Linked DNA regions of Homo sapiens: regions 1, 2 and 3 are each linked to region 4. Evidence: promoter capture Hi-C in human tissues and cell types (Jung and others, 2019). All regions are on one chromosome and are shown on one strand. Each heading gives the region's core, a stretch centred on a gene start or on the middle of the fragment in contact. The rest is flanking DNA. Distances are from core to core; before and after follow the strand shown.

What was found. The method cuts DNA at HindIII sites, captures the fragments that hold promoters and counts their contacts. A contact is called where the count stands out against the background at its distance.
Region 1: a contact is called between a fragment that was not itself captured here and the fragment with the promoter of SFMBT2 in region 4, in 2 of the 25 tissues and cell types used here (dorsolateral prefrontal cortex and spleen).
Region 2: a contact is called between a fragment that was not itself captured here and the fragment with the promoter of SFMBT2 in region 4, in 1 of the 25 tissues and cell types used here (hippocampus).
Region 3: a fragment that was not itself captured here is called in contact with the fragment with the promoter of SFMBT2 in region 4 in 1 of the 25 tissues and cell types used here (spleen).

Annotation. Positions count from the first base shown.
Region 1 is chr10:6,688,826-6,691,525 of GRCh38, reverse strand. No RefSeq gene overlaps it. Among named protein-coding and RNA genes, the nearest start is that of LINP1, 47 kb to the left of the region's middle. The HindIII fragment of the contact is 4,159 bases long and covers 1-2,700 here.
Region 2 is chr10:6,596,667-6,599,366 of GRCh38, reverse strand. No RefSeq gene overlaps it. Among named protein-coding and RNA genes, the nearest start is that of PRKCQ-AS1, 18 kb to the right of the region's middle. The HindIII fragment of the contact is 3,616 bases long and covers 1-2,700 here.
Region 3 is chr10:6,464,859-6,467,558 of GRCh38, reverse strand. All of the region lies in intron 12 of PRKCQ (protein kinase C theta), which reads left to right. Among named protein-coding and RNA genes, the nearest start is that of PRKCQ, 110 kb to the left of the region's middle. The HindIII fragment of the contact is 8,825 bases long and covers 1-2,700 here.
Region 4 is chr10:7,409,670-7,412,369 of GRCh38, reverse strand. It overlaps SFMBT2 (Scm like with four mbt domains 2), which reads left to right and starts at 1,336. Exons shown (of 21, transcript NM_001387889.1): 1 at 1,336-1,509. RefSeq lists enhancers at 1-166, 167-1,087 and a silencer at 1,323-1,462. The HindIII fragment of the contact is 7,941 bases long and covers 1-2,498 here.

The sequences.
Region 1 (2,700 bases), core at 91-2,590, 720 kb after region 4:
TGCCAAAATAACTACTATAGTATACTATATTTTGACATAGGAGGAAGGGTGAATGTAAAGGTGAATGCTGGGTTTTATCAATCCACGTGTCACAGCAAATGAATGCTTGACCATTGTGCAAGTCAGGATGGGCTAGGTTATGCACAAGCAAAAAGCAACCGCAAAATATCAATGGCTAAACATTCTTAAAAGTGTGTGTGTAGGCCGGGCGCAGTGGCTCACACCTGTAATCCCAGCACTTTGGGAGGCCGAGGCAGGCGGATCACGAGGTCAGGAGTTCAAGACCAGCCTGACCATGTATTACTAAAACTACAAAAAGTAGCGGGGTGTGGTGGTGCATGCCTGTAATCCCAACTATTCAGGAGGCTCAGGTGGGAAAATCACTTGAACCTGGGAGGTGGAGGTTGCAGTGAGCCAAGATTGTGCCACTGCACTCCAGCCTGGGCGACAGAGTGAGACTCCATCTCAAAAAAAAAAAAAGTGTTTGTGTAGACATATATATGTATACACACATATATACGCAGAGACACAGCTATACATATATGTATATATGTACATATATATGTATACATATTTAAAATGTTGCATTCACATTAAACGGTCAGCACCAGCCAGCAGTGCTCCACCGAAGATTTCATCTTATTTATGTGTACCTCCAGAACTACTGTTTTTTTTGTTTGTTTGTTTGTTTGTTTGTTTGTTTGTTTTAATTTCGAGACAGAGTCTCACTCTGCAGCCCAGCCCAGTCAGAGTGCAGTAGCGCGATCTTGGCTCACTGCAAGCTCTGCCTCCAAGGTTCAAGCGATTCTCCTGCCTCAGCTCCCCCGAGTAGCTGGGATTACAGGCATGCGCCACCATGCCTGGCTAATTTTTGTATTTTTAGTAGAGACAGGATTTCACCATGTTGGCCAGGCTGGTCTCAAATTCCTGACCTCAGGTGATCCACCCACCTCGCCCTCCCAAAGTGCTGGGATTACAGGCATGAGCCACCGCACCCGGCCTAGTACTACTGTTTTCAGGGGAAGAGAATGCGGGTGTATTAGTCCGTTCTCACACTGCTATAAAGAAATACCCAAGAGTTGGTAATTTATAAATGAAAGAGGTTTAATTGACTCACAGTTCCGCATGGCTGGGAAGACATCAGGAAACTTACAGTCATGACAGAAGGGGATGCAGGCATCTCTCACATGGCAGCAGGTGAGAGAGAGGAGGAAACGAAGGTGGAAGAGCCCCTTATAAAACCATCAGATCTTGTGAGAAGTCACTCACTATCACGAGAACAGCATGGGGGGAAAGTGGTCCCACGATCCAATCACCTCCCTCCCTCCACACCTTGGAATTACAATTTGAGATGAGATTTGGGTGAGGACACAGAGCCAAACCATTATCAATGGGATTCGTGCCCTGGATTTTAAAGCTTCTTCCTAGTCAGTTTCATGTCTCTTCATCACATACATTGAACAAAGTAAGTCATCCACAACCAAGTCCAAAAAGAGCAGGGATGGTGCAATCTTGCCAAATGCCCAGGAGAAGAAATGGAACGTTTGTGAACAGCCCTGCAAAGAATGGAGTCCCCTGAAGATTCACATGTTGAAGCCCTAAATCCCAATGTAACTGTATTTGAAGACAGGGCTTTTAACAAGATAATTAAGATTAAATGAGAGCCTAAGGGTAGGCCCTAATCCAATAGGACAGGTGTCCTTATCAGGAGGGGAAGAGACGCCTGGCATGTGCATACACAGAGGAAGGCTGTGGGAGGCCAGAGCGAGAAGACGGCCTTCTGCAAGCCACAGAAAGAACCCTCAGGAGAAACCAGCTCTGGCACCTTGATCTTGGACTTCCAGCTTCCAGAACGGCAAGAAATAAATGTCTGCTGTTGGAGCTGCCTGGTCTGTGTGTCTTGTTCTGCCAGTCTCAGCCGACTAAGACAAACTCAATGGTTATCCCAACCACAGTGGCTGAATCGGTACAGAAAATGCACTCAGCACTATGCATCTTCATTAGATTTCCATGGCATTATACTGAGGCGTAGATGATCTATCAAATTAAATGAACCCAGTAAAAACAAGGAGAAATCAGGTGCAAATAAATACTTTATTAAGGACTCCTCCTGTCTACACCAAAGAGTATTTTCTCAGTGTTGTTTTGCACACATTTCAGATGAGGATAAATAGCCTAGGCGCCAGCTTTCATCCCAACTTACTTTAAAAACAAAAATACTGCCAAGAGAACTGTATTACTTATTTCAATGTAATACGGAAATGACTCAGCACAGAGACCGAATCCTACCTGCTGGCTGATTGCTGTGTGTGTGGATACTTATCCAAGGTTCATCTTGCGTTTTTCATCCAAGAAGCTCACGATGGTTAGCAAACATAATCTGATCATCTTCAAAGGTACAACATGAAGAAATAAATCTTTTATATGATCAGCCTGCAGACATGCAACCTCAGGTGCAAGCCTCACCTGTAAGGTATTTCTTTTCTCACTTTTTATTCCAGCTTTATGGACCTGCTCCAGGCTGATGAAGGTTCCCCACTAGCTCTTACCCCTGACCCTGTAAGGCTTTTTCCCGCTGCCCTGGATTCCCACAGCTTCTGGAAGGACCCCCTTCTTGTGGCTCCTGACAACTTGTCCTTGAGGACTCTGTTTCTGTTTTATACTTGGCATTCAGCCAGGGGCCCTTTTATGCCCTTCCTA
Region 2 (2,700 bases), core at 127-2,626, 810 kb after region 4:
TAAAAATTAAGACAAATGTTTCATCCTCATTATCAACAACAATATCAACAATCTTTTCTGGGTGATTTTTTTTTCAGAGTACTGTCTGAAAAGTACTGTTGAGAATGACCAAGGAGACAAAAATAGAGAACTACTTGCGAGACTAAAGTATAAATGATAAAAGAGGGTAGGGAGCTGAGGGGATGAAGAGAGGTTGATTAATGGGTACTATACTAGTTCGTTCTCACACTGCTATAAAGAACTACCTGAGACTGGGTAATTTATAAAGGAAGGGGGTTTAATTGACTCACAGTTCTACAGGCTGTACAGGAGGCATGGCTGGGAGGCCTCAGGAAACTTATAATCATGGCAGAAAGGTGAAGGGGAAGCAGGCATGTCTTCATATGGTGGCAGAAAAGAAGGAGAGCGAAGGGGGAAGGGCTGCACACCTTTAAACAACCAGATCTCATGAGAACAGTAAGGGAGAAGTCTGCCCCCATGACTCAATTGCCTCTCATGAGGCCCTTCCTGTGGGGATTGCAGTTTTACATGAGATTTGGCTAGAGACACAGAGCCAAACCATATCAGGTACAAACACACACTTAGAAGAAATAAGACCTGGTGTTTGATACATCAGTAGGTTAATTATAATTAACATGAAGTGATTGCACATTTCAAAATAACTAGAAGATAATAATTTGAACATTCCTAGCATAAAGATAAATATTTAAGATGTTGGACATCCCAATTACCCTGATTTGATTATATGAATGTACCAAATTATTACATGTACCCTAAAAATATGTACAGCTATGGTGTATCAATAAAAATAAATAAATATTTTTATAGCAAAAAAGATCTGAGAGCAAAAGCTATAATAATAATATAAATTGCATATTCTGAAAACTAAATAAATGCCACCAAGAAAAAAATACTATCTTTAGGGAAGAGGTGGAACTTGAATTGGATGTGCAAAAAAAGGATTGGATTGGCAGAGGAGTAGAAAGGGAATTCCAGGCTGAGGATTGGTTTTAGCAAAAGTGCAGCATGGGAATGCATGTGGCATGTTCAAGAATTAATTAGGCAATGAGTTTAGGATAGAGAATATTTATGGAAATAGAGGGAGATAAATTTAAAGAAATAGACTGGGACTATACTACGAAGGATGATAAAGACCAGAAAAAGGAGTCTGAATGTTTATTCTATAACCCATAAGGTCTTATTGGCTATTTGGTGACTCAAACTATCAATAAGCCTTGAAGCTTGCAGACCAGAACTAACAAAATATCCCAGATAATATAGATGAACACAAGGAAGACTGCAGTGTGCTCTTGAACCACACAACTGCTACTCACAATTCTTTCGAATAATAAAAGGTGAAGGTGAGAACTTTAAGAAATGCTTAAAAGAAGGGGAAATAAAATAAAAATTGGGATGTCAGAGAGCTATATGCACTCCCATGTTCCCTATAGCAATATTCACAATAGCCAAGATATGGAATAACCTCTGTCCATCAAGGGATAAATGACAAAGAAAATGTGGTATAAGTAAAGCCTTAAAGAAAAGAAAAATCTATCATTCTTGACAACATGAATAAACCTGGAGGACATTATGCTGGGTGAAATAAGGCCGGCAGAGGAAGAGCAATACCACATTATCTCAAAACATCTCATGATGTGGAACATAAAGACGTCAAACTCATAGATGCAGAGAGTAGAATGGTGGTTACCAAGGACTGGAGGTGGGGGGGGAAATAGGGGATTGTTAAACCATACAAAATTTCAGTTCGACAGGAGGAACAAGTTCAATATATCCATTCTACAACATGGTGATTCTGGTTAACAGCAACGTGTCGTATACTTGAAAATTGCTCAGAGATTTTAAATATTCTCACTACAAACAAATGAAAACTGTTTGAGGTAATGTACATGTTAATTAGCTTGATGTAGCCATTCCACAATGTACACATATTTCAAAACATCATATTGTGCACCATAAATAGACACGGTTTTTAAAATTTCTCAATTTGAAAAAATGTTTTAGAGAAGAAAGCAAAGAAGACAAAAAGCAAGACCTTACTGCTGAGCCTGAATCCACCGGCCTGGATACCAGTGGATTTTCCTGAATGAAGTCACTGATTTTTTTTTTTTAAGTAATCATTACTTTTCAATTCTAGGACTTAGAAAATGCTTGTAACATATTTGCAAGGCAGTAAAGGATTAGTCACTGAATATATCAATGTGTTAAAATGATAAAATAATTAGGCAGGCAAGATGGAAAAGGAAAAAGGCTTTAAAATCTGCAGCGGAAGGATGGATTTAGATAGCTGCCTCATACCTCCTCCTTCTTGTTTTATATTTTTAATCCTGTTAAAAAAAATCACTCCCTCAACAAATATTCTTTGAATGGTGACTGTGTATCATGGGAAGGTTACTGGAGGCACAGGCTTAAAGTCAACACTGCTTTCAAATCTACACTCTGCCATCTACTCACCCATGGTTTTTGCAAATTGTGCGTATTTTCTGATCCTCAATTTTCTTTTCTGTAAAACAAAGATATAATATCTACCTCATAGTCTAATGTAAGAATCATATTTATAAAAGTTCTATAATATGCAATCAATTAATGGAAACTTAAAGATTAAAAAGTTTCATTTTCCATATCATCAAAAAAATGGAAAGATAAATTACTGTATGATAGGGCATTTGCTAATTTCCTAGC
Region 3 (2,700 bases), core at 177-2,676, 940 kb after region 4:
CCGGAAAGAATCATTTGCCTCGGTTAATGTATTACCCGCCATAAAGACGTGAGGTCTAGACTAGTAAGTGACATTTACAATTAACCCAACACAGGCCACATTCTCTCCCTCCCTCCCTCCCCACCATCTCTCTCTCTCTCTCTCTCTCTCTCTCTCTCTCTCTCTCTCTGTCTGTCTCTCTCTGTCTCTCTCTCTCTCTCTGTCTCTCTCTCTCTCTCTCTCTGTCTGTCTCTCTCTGTCTCTCTCTCTCTCTCTCTCTCTCAGCCTGCTTGGTATCCTCTCTCAGCAGGTGGCCAGAACCTAAACGGCAGCCCAGGAGGGAATCTAATTCTGTTTTCTTCTTTCTTTCGAGAGCCATCGGCCAGAGAACTGTTCATTTGCTTCTTCTGGGAAGTATTTGCTGGTTTTTGGATTGGTTTTGGTTTTGTCTTTCCTGGCTTTTAAATTGCTTCCTAGAAGGACAGCTGCCATCAGTTATCAATTGCCCACTGAGGACCAATGCAGAGATTCATTTCCACACACACTATTTTGTTTAATACCCACAGCAACCCTAGGAGGTAGGAGTATTACTACCCCATTTCACAAACTAAATGAAGCTCAGGAGAGGTTAAGTCACGTCTCCAGAGTTATAAATAGAGGGGCTTTGAACCCAGGGCTGAGTAAGGATGAAGCCCACATTCTTTGCAATTACTCTGAGTCTCATTCTTCTTGGTTTGTTTCTATCTATGCCAGCCCAGAGTCTTTCCAGCAGGCAGACACTTCTTTTTGCTTGCGGTTCTGCAGAGGTTCTAGTCAGCTGTGGGTTGCCTTCAACTCTGAGCTCTCCTTCCCCAGCTGTTTATGAAAGTTTGAGCCTATTATATTTGTATTTACCTTTTATGATGGGATTTTGGATTCAGCTTTTAAAAGGCTTATCCATCCCTCAAAATGTGCTCCTCAAAATCCAAACCTCTGGACTGTGTAGTTTGTATGTGCATACATTTGTGCTAATTTTATCACAGAGCAGAACAGATATTTGACAGATTTATTGTGGAGCCTGCAGTTCTCTTGGGAGGGTTAAATGTGGGGCATCCAACATACTATAAATCTCCATTGCTGTTAATTAATAATCACTAGTAACGTAGTCTTCTTCTCACCCTCATGTTAGTAAACACTGACTGTGCCCTGTGATCTCTTAGACTTTAATGGCCAATTCAACCCCCCCAATGCTCACCACTAGTGTGGCGTCTGATTCAGACCTGAGAATAGGTGGGAAGGTGTGTGGAATGCATGGGAGTGGGGCTGAACTGTTGCCTCCAGTCCCCTCCCACCACTTTCTCCACATCTAAATTGACAGTGTTAAATTCTGAAATGTCAGCCTTTCTAGGAATTTGTAAGCATCCAAACACTTAGAAGAAACCGTTCACTCAAGCACTGTTGGAAATGGTTTCGCTCTACACTTTCATACGCTTTGCTCTCGTGACTACTTAAAAGAAGATTCCACCTTTGTGGCTTGTATAGGGCCATTATAGTTTGAGTAAAAAGCTGAGGTTAGAACAGAAGCTCTTTCTGTGGTGCTGATGAGAGCAAGAGGTAGCATGAGAAAGCAGGTGTGTGCAGGCAAAGCCAATGACGACTCTCAAATTGGGTTTGAAATCTGTGTTAAGTCATGATTTATGTCAGCTGAGAATTTGGGCCTGTCCAGAAGAGAAAAGGGTGGGCTTCACTTAAAGATATATGGAATTAGTAAATCAGATCGGAAACTAACATTGAAAAAAGACGGATGCTTACCTTGACCTGGATTATTGAGATAATTGCCACAATACTTGGTTTCCCCATTCTGTGGTGACCAGGCAAGGAGTCTCACTGTCAGACCAGAACAATGTTTCTACTATTACCTCCTATGCCCCACGGCCTCGGTTGGGTTCACATCAAAACGTAAAGGTTAATTCTGTTAAGAAACCACCCAGGTGAGACTTTCAGATGCAAATTCATGCCCAGACGCACCGAAGGTCCTCACACTTTATGGATTACTGATTCTGTGATGCATTACAACCCTTTAAAAAATCAGGTTTCTCTAAAGTGTTATAAATACATTTATTGGAAAAAAAAATTGTCTCACATCATTGAGTTGCTGAGGCTGGTTACAATCCTGGCTGATATGCCCACCACAGCCTGAAGACCACCCAGCCCTACTTCTGACTGTGGCCACTCGAGGGCCCCAGCTCTACTGACATACATCATGTCCTCTGCCAGAAGAACTCCGTCATAAACTGTGGCTTGCCTCTGCCATGAGTTAAGTCAGGACTGGAGAAAAATAAGGTTAAACTTGATTGCAAGCTTCAGGGAGGAATGACTGACATGACCCGCCCACTCCCCCCACGCCACGCCCACAGAATATGCTCAGTAGCTAATTACTGAGTGTTGAGTGAATGAATGTTTTCAAGCTCCGCCCTTGGAGTCAGAGACCAAAACACATTCTCCTTATCACCCTGCACCCTGTCACTTTCAATAAGTATACAATCGGCACATGCTAAGTGCCCTAAGTGCCTGGCACCATCCCATTGTCTGGCCAGCAGGTCAACTGGACTCTCCCTTGTGCCCCCCGCTCATCTGCTGGGTTGTAACACGCAAGCATCTAGATGCCACAGGGCATCCCACCTAGATTCCCCAGGCTTCCTGGGGCTCAAAAACATAGATTGTTTAAATGATTTTGACAGT
Region 4 (2,700 bases), core at 87-2,586:
GAGAGGGCCCGCCTGAGGACCTCTGTCTGTGCCGCGCGTGGTCAGCCCCGGTCCCCTCACTCCATGGCTGGCCCCTAGCCCTTCAGAGCGGACACCTCTCCTTAGGGATGCAGGGCGAGGAAGGGCGGGTGGAGCTGCGAACCCACGGGGACCTGGAGGACCTCTTGGCCCCCTGGAGAGGGGTACTATGAGAGGGATTCATGGGACACAGATTTGGGGGACTGGGTAATTTTACCCCCTTTGGCAACCATAAAAACCCTGAGCAAACGTGTCCATTCGCTATTTCGCAGAAATATACAATGCAGGCCCACACAGGCATCTCTGCGAGGCCCCCTAGTTAAGGGCGCAGCGTTCTTCGGAAGCTCTTGGTCTTGCTACCAGGGCGTCACCGGCTTTTCCGCACTGGGGACATTTCGTTTGGGCTCTGCGCAGCCGTTGCACCTAAGGCCCTGGGAGCTCCGCGTTCCTCCCCAGGCGCCCGGGACAAAGTGCCCGAGGGCTCCGCAGACGTCCAGCCCTGCCCGGGGCTCACGGCCGCCGGGGCTCTCCAACGGACCGTCGAGGGCCACGTTTTGCTGGGGTGTGAGCGACGATTCTTTTCCCGCCCTATGAGGCCCGCCACTAGCTAGGTGCCCCATGAGACGCCGTGGCGAGCACGGCTACCTGGCAGCTCGCCCGGGCAGCCCCAACTTAATTTCCTGCCCCTCGGGGCACCTTTCCCTCGAATAGCTCTCCTCGGCCCCTCCAGCCCTGCCCAAGGGGCCTGGAAATGTTCGCAGCTTCAAGAAAGGCTCTATTTAAGCACAGGATGGGGTGGGGCGGGCGGGGCCAAGATTGCCCTGGGGATTGAATTTATCTCCGCTCCCAGCGATCCCCGGCGGATAAAGCGCAAGTTTGTGCACACGGTCGACTGAGCCATTGGAAACCCAGCTCACGAACCGCAGCCAGGGAAACGGGAGTTTGCCCAGTTGTCCTTGCGGAGGGGTGTGCGGAAACGCCCGCGATGGGAACTTTCTGCAGATCATGTATGGAGGGAGCTCACAAAAAGGAGGAAGGGGAGCGCGGTGGGGAGGAGGCCGCGTGGGCGTGGAAGGTCCCAGGGTCCTGGGGGTGCCCGCCTGCTTAGGCGCAGGGAATGGCGCGGAGCTGGCTGGGGAAGGAGCCGATCACGTCCCGCAGGCTAATTGGCTTAAGAAATTTTGCAAGCGCTGGAAAAGGTCGTTGAAGGAGTTCGCTGCACGCGCACGCACACACATACACACACACACAAAATCTTAAAAAAAAAAAAAAAAAAAAAAAAAAAAGAGCGCCGAGCATGCGCACAGAGAGGATGCCATATTGGAATGAGCTGTAGTGGGAGCCGGAGGACCGGAGCGGGCGCGCGAGGGAGGCGGCGGGCGGGGAGCGAGCGGGCAAGGGCGGGCGAGCGAGCAAGCGAGCGAGGCCGGTGCCCTCCCGGGCGGCGACCGGGGCCTGGGTCCACGCCGAGGGCAGGACGAACTTCACCAGGTAGGACGCCGCGCCGGCTGCTGTCCCCGGCGCCCAGGCTGGCCGGAGAGCAGCCCTTCGGCCCGCAGGTTGAGTGCGCTGGTCAGGGGCTTTTTCCAGCCTAGGAAAAAAAAGGAAAAAAAAAAAAAGGAAGGAAGCCTGAGGGAGCTGGGGTTGGAGGTGGCGGGTGGGGGAAGGCTGGGGAGGGTGCAGGGGAGCGAAAGAGAAGGGCAGGAGAAGAAAGCGACTGCACTTGAGCGAAGCTTCAAACTCCTCTGTGCGCTCCAGGTTGTCATTTTTGCTTCCCGGGTCCCCTTCGCCTGCGTCTCCGGGCTCGGAAAAGCCGAGCCGTGCGGGAGTCCGTCCGGAGTTGCAAAGTGTCCTCCTTCCCCGGGCGCAGCCTGTCCCCTCCCGCCGCCCACCTTCCTCGTTTCTGCACTCATTTTAGCGACGCAGCCGCCGCTGCTACCTACCCCGCGCTCCCGCGTCTCCTCCGCGCTGGGGTCTCCCCTTTCTTTTGGTTTGGGTGGGAGAAAAAGATGGTGAGGACGGGGAATCGGAGACCGGCATGGGGGTAAAAATCGTGCAGACATTCGGAATCGCTCCCTTGGAAACATTTGCCTGAGCAACTGAAATAAAATTGGCAGTAGTAGTTTTGGAGCGTGCTCCAGCGAGGATGGTCTTTTTGTTCATTATTTTCTCTTTAAAGTAATATCCTGTCACTTAGGGGCTTTCCGGTTGTCTCCTCTTATTCGACCCCCTTTCAAAATTGCTGACTTGAGCTGGTTCTGGAGTTTATTTTTTAATATGCGTGCGTGGGTATGTGTATGTGTGTGTATGTTTTGCAGAAATCCGCCAAAATGCAACTGTAGGAACTGCGAGATGTATTTATTGATTTTGACCAGGGGCGGTGGGAAGGGGCTGGAGGGAGCTGGGGGATCCTGGAGGGTGGGAAGTGGCTGATTCTCGGTGGCCGGACACTCATCCAGAGCCTGATCCGTACTCGTGTTTTCTTGGAAGCGCCACAACTGCGGGGAAGGAGTCTTTAGAAACCGTGCCAGTTTCAATATGGCGGGCTAAGGTGGCTTTTAAAAACTGAAAATAAAGGTTTTGAGGTGGGAAAAAACCCAGCTGAAGTTTCCACCCCTTAGTTTCGACTCTCTTTGGCTACCCCAGGAAGCGCTTTAGCGAATTAAGTGGGGAAAAAAAGAA